3 separate regions of the Homo sapiens genome follow, and all the other regions are linked to region 3. The links are contacts of gene promoters, found by promoter capture Hi-C in blood cells and fetal thymus (Javierre and others, 2016). All regions are on one chromosome and are shown on one strand. Each heading gives the region's core, a stretch centred on a gene start or on the middle of the fragment in contact. The rest is flanking DNA. Distances are from core to core; before and after follow the strand shown. Region 1 holds the start of TMEM141 (transmembrane protein 141). Region 2 holds the start of RABL6 (RAB, member RAS oncogene family like 6). Region 3 holds the start of ENTPD8 (ectonucleoside triphosphate diphosphohydrolase 8).

Region 1 (3,339 bases), core at 573-3,072, 650 kb before region 3:
AATGGTGATGACTTTTACCAAGCGTACTGCCTGCAAACACATTGTTAACAAGGCACATCCTGCACGGCCCTAAATCCCCTAAACCTTGAGTCAATACAGCACATGTTCCTGTGAGCACAGGGTTGGGGCTAAGGTTACAGATTAACAGCATTTCAAAGCAGAATAATTTTTCTTAGTACAGATCAAAATGGAGTTTCTTATGTCTTCCTTTTTCTACACAGACACAGTAACAGTCTGATCTCTCTTTTCCCCACAAATGGCATTAAATTATTTCCATATATTATAGAGTAGGTCCTTCCACATTTTGAAGAGTAGCAAATCTAGCTTTTTTGTACAGACTTATAAATTATCTAAAGACTTCAGCCTTTTTTTTTTTTTTGAAACAGAGTCTCACTCTGTCGCCCAGGCTGGAGTGCAGTGGCACGATCTTGGCTCCCTGCAACCTCCACCTCCCAGGTTCAAGTGATTCTCCTGCCTCAGCCTCCCCAGTACCTGGGATTATAGGCACCTGCCACCACGCCCGGCTAATTTTTGTATTTTTAGTAGAGACGGGGTTTCACCATCTTGGCCAGGCTAGTATTTAACTCCTGACCTTGTGATCCACCTGCCTCGGCCTCCCAAGGTGCTGGGATTACAGGCGTAAGCCACCGCACCTGGCCAAGATTTCATCTTTTTACCTCATATTTCTTAGGAATTTAATGGTTATATGTTGTCTTTTTTCCCATGCCTTTTGGCTCAAGCAACACGTATATCAGTGTTGACTTTTTCTTTCTTTGATCTAGTTTAAAAAAAAAAACCACATAATAATTCTTTGAAGAAAGGAAGGGGTTAATTTTTTTCCCTAGCACTTTCTTGAAGATCAGGGACTTTATCGATGAAAAAGTAGTAAATAGTTATTTGTAACCTGTGTGAAGCAGCAGCCTGACTTGAAGTCCTCCGTTCTTGCTAATGGTTACACCAGTGAATACTAGTGGAATTGTTTGGGCTGATTTTAGTTTCTCTTAATCAAAATTACTAGATGATAGAATTCAAGAACTTGTACATGTTATTACTTGGTGTATCGATAATTATTTGAAAGTAAAGACTCTTTGTCATGCAAAACAAAAGGAGTTTGAGGCTCAGCTACTAAGCTGCTGGTTACAGAACCACTTTGCTAAACAGTGATTTTATACATCCCCACTCCGTGGTGGCTTATGAGAAATTCAATCCCTGATTGTAGTCCTCAAGCAAAATAACACTGACAATCATCAGGCCTCTGCAAGTGTGGGAATGAGGCCCGGCCGGGGGGAGGAGCGCACGCTCTCAGCCACGCCCCGCCCGGTGCCCGCCTTCGCCCCGCCCAGTCGTCGCCGGAGGTCACAGGGCCCAAGCTCCTAGAGGCGTGGCCAGGCCCCAGGCCCCACCCCTCTCCCCTGCGCTCTAGCAGGCTCGATCCATGCTCCGCCCCCAATCCAAGGCCCTGGCCCCTCCGCCTGCACCCGGCAGGACCCGCCTCTTAGAACCCGACACCTCCGCCTGCGCAGGCCCGCTCCCCGGTCCTGTCTCTCAGGCCCCGCCCCCAGGTCGCGTCTCCAAAGTCCCGTCTCTCAGGCCCCGCCCCCAGATCACGTCTCCCAGGTCCCGCCCCCTCCGCCTGCTGCCGCGCGGACCCGCCCTCAGGCGCCGTCTCCTAGGCCCCGCCCCCTCCGCCTGTTCCAGCGCGGGCCGGTCCCTAGGCCTCGCCCCCAGATCCGGGCCCTGCCCCTCCGTCCGTAACTGCGCAGGCCTGTCCTCTGGGCCACACCCCCAGGTTCCCGTCCCGCCCTTCCGCCTGCGCCTGCGCAGGCCCGCTCCCCGAGCCCTGCCAACCATGGTGAACTTGGGTCTGTCCCGGGTGGACGACGCCGTGGCTGCCAAGCACCCGGTGAGAAGGCCGGTCTGGGACGCGGGCCTCAAACCCCAGAAGCTGACCTGAGCGAGGCGGGGGGCCGGGGCGTGGGGGTGCCCTCGTCAGGGAAGAGTGGCGGAGGCTGGGGGCACTCTCTTGCTAAGGGGCTCAGGGCGTCCGGGTGGGCATAGGGGAGGTGGGACGTGTCCAAGCGCCCAGGGTCTCACTCCTCCACAGCCAGGGTGTGCCCAGAGGAGGGACAGGAGAGGCGGTGAAGGAAGAGGGCAGGGGATCGAGCCTTCACCCGCCTCTGCCACCCCAGGGACTCGGGGAGTATGCCGCATGCCAGTCACACGCCTTCATGAAGGGCGTTTTCACCTTCGTCACAGGTAGGCTGCGTCCAGGTGTCCTGCGGCTGGGAGAGAACGCACCCTCCCGCCCTGCCCTGACTCCCCAGCAGGGGGCGCCAAGTCACCTGCCCGCAGGTGCTGGGGGCCTGGCAAGGTGGGCCCTGGCTATCCCCGGGTACAGGTTGATGGGGACCTCGGCTCTTTGCAGGCACCGGCATGGCCTTTGGCTTGCAGATGTTCATTCAGAGGAAGTTTCCATACCCTTTGCAGTGGAGCCTCCTAGTGGCCGTGGGTGGGTACTCCAGGGCCCCTGCCTGGGCTCTTTGAGGGGTGGGTTTCTGCTAGGGTTGGGGCTGTGGTTCTGCGTCCCTGACTCTGACATGGAGCCCCAGGTCTCGGCGGGAGCCCCACCTGAGCCCACCCACCACGTCTGTCAGGAAGTAGCCTGTGCCCGGTTCTCTTAGCCTGGGAAGCACAGAGGCCCCAGCCCTCTTCCATTTCCTGCTCCACAGTTGCAGGCTCTGTGGTCAGCTACGGGGTGACGAGAGTGGAGTCGGAGAAATGCAACAACCTCTGGCTCTTCCTGGAGACCGGGCAGCTCCCCAAAGACAGGAGCACAGGTGAGAGAGCCTGGGGGTTAGCGAGAAGTGAATGCCACCTCTCCAGCACCCAGAGTTTTGGGCAGCCAAGCCTGGGTGCACCATGCGATAGGCTAGACAAGGTCCCTCCCTCTGGCCCGGCCTCCTCAGCATGTGACTGCCAGATGGGTTGGAGCTGGGGGTGGGCGCAGTAGACAGATCTTGGAGAGCTCCCTTTGAGGAGAAAGAACCAAGAGGGGCTGGGGTGCCCCTGAGATTGAGAGGAAGGGTGCAGAGTGAAGGGTGTGGCAAGGCCACAGCAGCCACGTGGGCACCCGAGAGGAGTGAGGCTGGACTGAGAAGCCCCGCATTGGACCCAGGCCTGGCCTCCACTGCCCGTTGTCCTTGTTACGGAACCCAGTTTCTGCCATGATAAAATGGGCACAGGGATGCCCAGCCACGATGGATGTGGTTCGAGCTTGTCTCTCTTTGCCTTTTACAGATCAGAGAAGCTAGGAGAGCTCCAGCAGGGGCACAGAGGATT
Region 2 (3,254 bases), core at 1-2,500, 630 kb before region 3:
ACACACCAGGTCCCTGGGCAGGGCCAGAGGGGAGATGAGACCCTCCTCCCGGCCTACAGAGAGAAGTGGTGCTCTCCAACACCCTCGATTTGAACAGCAAGCTGGCGTACTGCGAGGGGAAGCTCACGTACCTGGCTGACAGAGTGCAGATGGTGTCCAGGACCGAGGAGGTAGCCCCGGGCTGGGAGGAACCTGCACAGCCCACGTCCCCTCAAAGCTGACAGGCTCCCGTTCAGAGTGTCTGCACGGCTGAAGGGGGCTTTGCCCTGCAGGGCGACACAAAGGTGAGGGACACCCTGGAGTCCTCGACTCTGATGGAGAAGTACAACACCAGGATCAGCTTTGAGAACCGGGAGGAGGATATGATCGGTACAGGCCCCGGAACTGGGGCCCGGGCTGCAGGCGGGTGGCTGGAACACAGGTCGGGGTGGCGCCGGCTCCCATCCCACCGGGACATCCTGGAGGGACAGCGGGGCTACAGGGTGCATCAGTTGTACCTGCAGGACTTTAATTGATGGAGGTGACTTAGTGATGCCATGGGGAGGCTAAAGCCACTGAAATACCTTGTTAATTTCTCCGAAAGGAGGAGGCATGCCATGCCAGACGGGCCCGGAGGAGAGGCACCAGGGCTGGAGCAGGGAGGAGCGCGGTGAAGGCCTGGGCCGGAGCTTCCACTGGGGGTTCTGCGGGAAAGGCTAGGCAGGGCAGCGTGAGCCGCTGCGAATGGGCTGGGCTGAGTCCTCCCGGCACGCTGGGGCTGTCCCTGGGGCAAGGCACCTGGCCCGGGTCGGTGGAGGGCGGGGGCGAGAGGCGGGTCGGGCGGCTGCGCCTAGCTGGGCTAGCCCCGTGTGCGAGCCGCCGCCTCCGCCCGCAGACACCTTCCAGTTCCCCGACATGGACCACAGCTACGTCCCTTCGCGCGCCGAGATCAAGAGGCAGGCGCAGCGGCTAATCGAGGGGAAGCTCAAGGCGGCCAAGAAAAAGAAGAAGTAGCCCCGCCGCCCCGCTCCCTGCTTTGCTACACAAATAAACATTTTTCCAGGACTGCTGCGGACGCTGGGGCGACCGGGGTCTCGGAGAGGAGCACGGGACACGCAGGATCGGGGGAGGTTCTGCGTAAGGAGGCAGCCCGGGCCCGGAACTGCGCGCCAGAACCGCGTGCGCATGCGCCGACCGCGCGCGCCGCGCCCCCGCGGCCCTCGCGGCGCCCCGTAGCCGCGCACCCCTCCCGTCCCGCCGAGCCGGCGCCAAGATGGCGGCGCTGACTCCTGGAGAGCGGTCGCGCCGGAGGCCGCGGGGGCCGGAGCGGAGCAGCCGCGGCTGAGGTTCCCGAGTCGCCGCTCGGGGCTGCGCTCCGCCGCCGGGACCCCGGCCTCTGGCCGCGCCGGCTCCGGCCTCCGGGGGGGCCGGGGCCGCCGGGACATGGTGCCAGTCGCACCCCTTCCCCGCCGCCGCTGAGCTCGCCGGCCGCGCCCGGGCTGGGACGTCCGAGCGGGAAGATGTTTTCCGCCCTGAAGAAGCTGGTGGGGTCGGACCAGGCCCCGGGCCGGGACAAGAACATCCCCGCCGGGCTGCAGTCCATGAACCAGGCGTTGCAGAGGCGCTTCGCCAAGGGGGTGCAGTACAACAGTGAGTGCGGCGGGCCGGGGGGGCGCGGGAGCGCCGCGCGGGTCTCCGAACCCAGGCCCCGGGCGCCGCGCGGTGGTGGGTGTCGGTCTCACCTGCTTGCCGGTTGTGGGGTGCGCTGGGCCCGCCGGGCGCTCCGGGAGCGGGGGCGCGGGCCAGGGGACGCGAGGAGAGGCCAGGCCAGGGCCGGGTCCTCGCGGCCCCCGAGCCGCGGGTCGTTTCCCAGCCGCACTCGCCTGCCGCGTGTCGCTCCCGCCGCGCTGTGCAGTGGAGCGGGTCGGCGGCGGCGGGGTTGGCCCGGCTGCCCGGCCCGGGGGTGATTACATAATGCCAAGCAGGGCCCGCCGGCCCGGGGCGCCGCGCCCCCGACGCTCCACGGTGCCCAGCCCCGGGCACCACTCACCTGCAGGAGGTGCGGGGAACCCAGCCGGCCTTGGCGCTTTCAGCGGGATTTTTCTTTGTTGACTTCCTACTGAGTTTGAAGACAGAATATTAGCTACGCCACACATTCTCGCCTTTTTTTTTAAAAGAAGCGTTTGTAAGAGACGTATCTAGAAAAGCTCCAGAAGGCACGGGCTGACTTGCGACTGTAGGAGACATCCCATTTCTCGTAGGAAGGAGGAGTCATTTACGGACTCCTGAGTGCCTGGGACGCTCCATTCCTTTGTTATAAATTGTGTAAATTGTCCTCGACCTCTTATGAGTTTTTCCATCTTGCGGGCTCTTTCCCAGTAGTTTTTGAAAGCTTTTATGTGGTTCCCTGTTTTGACATTGCTTCCCTCTTAGCCATTTCCGTATGTTTCTATGAGGTTTTAGGACGCTACGCCTATCCAGTTTTTTGGTCACTTTAAGGGGAGCCTTAGAGCCTCCGTGATATTTCCATGGTAATGTAGAATTTTAAGAACTAATGATCAGAAAGACTCTTGTGCAGGTTTAAAAGCAAGTTCATGAATTCGCGTGCCGTGTGCACGGAGAGAGGCCGTAGTTCCTGGGGCTGGAGCTAGTCCAGGAGGACAGTGAAGATGTCGCCTTCCTTAGTCCCCCGGCCTGTGAGCAAGAGGAAGCTGCAGACCACTCGGGCCACCCTCACCCAGACACCTTTAGCAGTAAGCAAGATAAAACAACTTCTTAAAGATAAGTCTGAGCATCTAGGTATGAAAGTTGGTGTCCGGGCCGGGCACGGTGGCTCATGCCTGTAATCCCAGCACTTTGGGAGGCCAAGGCGGGCAGATCACGAGGTCAGGAATTCGAGACCAGCCTGGCCAACATAGTGAAACACCGTCTCTACTAAAAATACGAAAAAAAAATTTAAAAGAAAGTTGATGTCCGAACCAAGGGCCGTATTGGCTTTTCTTATACTCTAGAACATACGACGACAAAGAAGATTTTGATGAAGTTCAAATTAGAGTCAGCGTGCTCATCAGAAAGAAAGCGCAGCCAACACGTTTAGGAACAGAAACGGATTATGTTGAAGACAAACAATCCATTGCGTTTGTGTTCAGTAACCCAAGCATCAAAGGAACTTGTGGCTGGGGAGAAGGCTTGACTATTTGAAATCTCAGGACTCCTCTGTCCAGGAGCTCCCAGACTCCCGTGGAGTGGAAGCCTGGGGGCTCGCTGAAGAAGTC
Region 3 (3,268 bases), core at 769-3,268:
AGCCCCACTTCACACGGGTACCACTGCCAAAGGAGTGGTCAAAGCCAGAGGCTGCCTGCCAAGGTCCCGGCACCTGAACCCCATGTGACCGTGTCCTATCGTGTTCCCCCGGGAAACGTTGCACCCACACTGAGTGGCAGGCGCGGGTGCTGCCCTGGTCCTGACCTGGGGCTCCTGGGCACGTGGAAAGTGGGACACGCTGTGGGGTCCTCACGCAATTCTGTATGTCCGGGGGATATAAGCCCATTTTAAGGAGGGTAGATGACAGAGGCTCAGAGAGGACAGGAGGCCGGTCCAGCCCAGACAGGGCCCAGCCTGTGTCCCCAACCAGCACCCAGGCCATAGGCCACCTCATAGGGACAAACAGGTGACAGGGGCCAGGAACACAGGGACTCCACACCCAGAAGATGTAGCCACCTGAGACCCCCAGGCCTGAGCCTCCAGGTAGGCAAAGAGGTTGGGGCAACCTCTCCCACACTCAAAAGACCCCCAAGACCAGAACAGCCTCCCAGATCAGAACAGCTCCTCAGACCAGGAAAGCGCCCCCCAGACCAGAACAGCCCCCCCGAGACCAGGACAGTGCCCCCAGACCAGGAGAGCCCCCCAGACCAGGACACCCCCTCAGACAGAACAGTCCCCCAGACCAGGACAGCCCCCCAGACCAGGACAGCCCCCCCCAGACCAGGAGAGCCCCCCAGACCAGGACACCCCCTCAGACAGAACAGTCCCCCAGACCAGGACAGCCCCCCCAGACCAGGACAGCCCCCCAGACCAGGACAGCCCCCCCAGACCAGGACAGCCCCCCCAGACCAGGAGAGTCCCCCAGGCCAGGACATCCCCTCACACAGAACAGTCCCTGAGACCAGGACAGCCCCCCCAGACCAGGACACCCCCTCACACAGAACAGACTCCCAGATCAGGACAGCCCCCCAGACCAGGACAGCCCCCCAGACCAGGACAGCCCCCGCCAGACCAGGACAGCCCCCCCCAGACCAGGAGAGCCCCCCAGACCAGGACACCCCCTCACACAGAACAGATTCCCAGACCAGGACAGCCCCCAGACCAGGACAGCCCCCCCCAGACCAGGACAGCCCCCCAGACCAGGACAGCCCCCCCCCAGACCAGGAGAGCCCCCCAGGCCAGGACACCCCCTCAGACAGAACAGTCCCCCAGACCAGGACAGCCCCCCAGACCAGGACAGCCCCCCCCAGACCAGGAGAGCCCCCCAGACCAGGACACCCCCTCAGACAGAACAGTCCCCCAGACCAGGACAGCCCCCCCAGACCAGGACAGCCCCCCAGACCAGGACAGCCCCCCCAGACCAGGACAGCCCCCCAGACCAGGACAGCCCCCCCCAGACCAGGACAGCCCCCCCAGACCAGGACAGCCCCCCAGACCAGGACAGCCCCCCCAGACCAGGACACCCCCTCAGACAGAACAGTCCCCCAGACCAGGACAGCCCCCCCAGACCAGGACAGCCCCCCAGACCAGGACAGCCCCCCCAGACCAGGACAGCCCCCCAGACCAGGACAGCCCCCCCCAGACCAGGACAGCCCCCCAGACCAGGACAGCCCCCCAGACCAGGACAGCCCCCCCAGACCAGGACACCCCCTCAGACAGAACAGTCCCCCAGACCAGGACAGCCCCCCCAGACCAGGACAGCCCCCCAGACCAGGACAGCCCCCCCAGACCAGGACAGCCCCCCAGACCAGGACAGCCCCCCAGACCAGGACAGCCCCCCAGACCAGGACAGCCCCCCCAGACCAGGACACCCCCTCAGACAGAACAGTCCCCCAGACCAGGACAGCCCCCCCAGACCAGGACAGCCCCCCAGACCAGGACAGCCCCCCCAGACCAGGACAGCCCCCCAGACCAGGACAGCCCCCCAGACCAGGACAGCCCCCCAGACCAGGACAGCCCCCCCAGGACATCCCTTTGGACCCTCACCTGGGCTGGCTGCCCACTTCCCGGAGCGGCAAGGAGGAAGCTGTGCTTAGACGCTTCTGTGTCCGCGCACCTGGCGTCCAGCCTCTCCCTGCCCCTGGGTCCAGGACAGCTGGGGTGGGCGGGGCAGGGCGGTGACAGCCTCGGGCGATGCGCTGTGCACCTGGCTCCAGGGCCCGCAGGCTGAGGCCAGCGCCCAAGGTCGCCCCGCCCACTCCACCCTCGGGTCCCCCGCCCAGGGTCTCCCCGCATCTCCCACCCGCGGGTCTGTCTCGGTGCCCAGGGTCGCCCCGCCCCCGGGGGGGTGGGAGGCAGGAGAGGGAAGCTGAGGAGGAGCCTGGAGCTGCGAGGGGCAGAACTCCGGGACCCCGCCCCCCACGGCCCGCAGCCGCGCTCCTGACCCCGGCCCGGACTTTACCCCCCGTGCCGCCCGGCCCGGGCAGGTCGGAGTCAGGTGACCCCGAAGGTCCAGGCCCGGGGCGGGGGCGGAAGCGCCTGCAGCCCCGCGGCGCCCGTCGTTTTCCATTTGCAGCCACTCTGCCTTTCCCGCTCGCCGTGGGTCCCGGGGCCGCCGCCGTCGGGGTCCGGGCCTCTGAAGCGGGGCGGGGCTGGGGGAGGCGCGGAGCCAGGGCCGGGCTGGGTGGGGCTGGGGGTGTTGGGGGGCGGGGAATAGGGTGGGGGAATGCGGGGGGGCGGTGAATTCCTTTCTGTGTGAGATCCAAGAACCCTCTTGGGGTCTCAATCGGGACTCTCTTTACTGGTAGCATATTTGGTGTCATGTGTGTGCATTTTTGTGCTTTTTCTTGGTGATTTCACTGTTTATAATGGCGTCTCAGCATAGTGCAGAAATGCAAGAAGGCTGAGATGCACTTTACAGAGAAAACACACATTGGATAAGCTTCATTCGTGCAAGAGTTAGCGCTGTTGGCCATGAGTTCAATGTTAGTGATACAATACATATTAAGTAAGGTGCCCTTAAACAAAAATACACATAAAAGAAGGTTTTATTAATATATTGATCATTTAACAAAAATGTGACCAGAAGCTTGCAGGAACAGAACTTTGCATTTCCCTTAGGAGCAATAGTTTAGCATATTCTTTAATTCAGTGTTTGCAGCAACTTTATACACTAGCTGCCATGGGTCATAAGAGTCAAATGTGTTTGTTGAGGATTTTTGCAGTTGTGTTCAACAAAGTTGCATAGTTTTCTTTTTTAGTCCTGGTTTCTGTATGGGGATAATGCTGGGCTTATAAAATGAGTCTGGGAAGTTGTCCTTTTTTTTTTTTTTTTTTGAGATGGAGTCTCGCTCTGTCACCCAGGCTA

The links. The method cuts DNA at HindIII sites, captures the fragments that hold promoters and counts their contacts. A CHiCAGO score of 5 or more calls a contact.
Region 1: a contact is called between the fragment with the promoter of TMEM141 here and the fragment with the promoter of ENTPD8 in region 3, in 5 of 17 cell types (naive B cells, total B cells, activated CD4 T cells and 2 more). The highest score is 7.8, in naive B cells.
Region 2: a contact is called between the fragment with the promoter of RABL6 here and the fragment with the promoter of ENTPD8 in region 3, in 3 of 17 cell types (total CD4 T cells, erythroblasts and neutrophils). The highest score is 7.5, in total CD4 T cells.

The regions. Positions count from the first base shown.
Region 1 is chr9:136,789,522-136,792,860 of GRCh38, forward strand. It overlaps TMEM141 (transmembrane protein 141), which reads left to right and starts at 1,823. Exons shown (of 5, transcript NM_032928.4): 1 at 1,823-1,903; 2 at 2,190-2,256; 3 at 2,426-2,509; 4 at 2,730-2,837; 5 at 3,298-3,339. The coding sequence starts at 1,850. The coding sequence ends at 3,311. RefSeq lists a silencer at 1,210-2,249. The HindIII fragment of the contact is 4,968 bases long and covers 1-3,339 here.
Region 2 is chr9:136,806,698-136,809,951 of GRCh38, forward strand. It overlaps RABL6 (RAB, member RAS oncogene family like 6), which reads left to right and starts at 1,251. Exons shown (of 15, transcript NM_024718.5): 1 at 1,251-1,629. The coding sequence starts at 1,500. CCDC183 (coiled-coil domain containing 183) reads left to right here. Exons shown (of 14, transcript NM_001039374.5): 12 at 60-170; 13 at 273-369; 14 at 875-1,044. The coding sequence ends at 993. It overlaps CCDC183-AS1 (CCDC183 antisense RNA 1), which reads right to left and starts at 2,151. Exons shown (of 5, transcript NR_024580.1): 1 at 2,030-2,151; 2 at 132-505. It also overlaps the pseudogene LOC100422233. RefSeq lists enhancers at 195-790, 791-1,387 and silencers at 663-892, 1,093-1,262, 1,313-1,372, 1,393-1,522, 1,533-2,062. The HindIII fragment of the contact is 3,360 bases long and covers 1-2,369 here.
Region 3 is chr9:137,439,339-137,442,606 of GRCh38, forward strand. It overlaps ENTPD8 (ectonucleoside triphosphate diphosphohydrolase 8), which reads right to left and starts at 2,019. Exons shown (of 10, transcript NM_001033113.2): 1 at 1,948-2,019. RefSeq lists a silencer at 1,879-2,173. The HindIII fragment of the contact is 13,084 bases long and covers 1-2,840 here.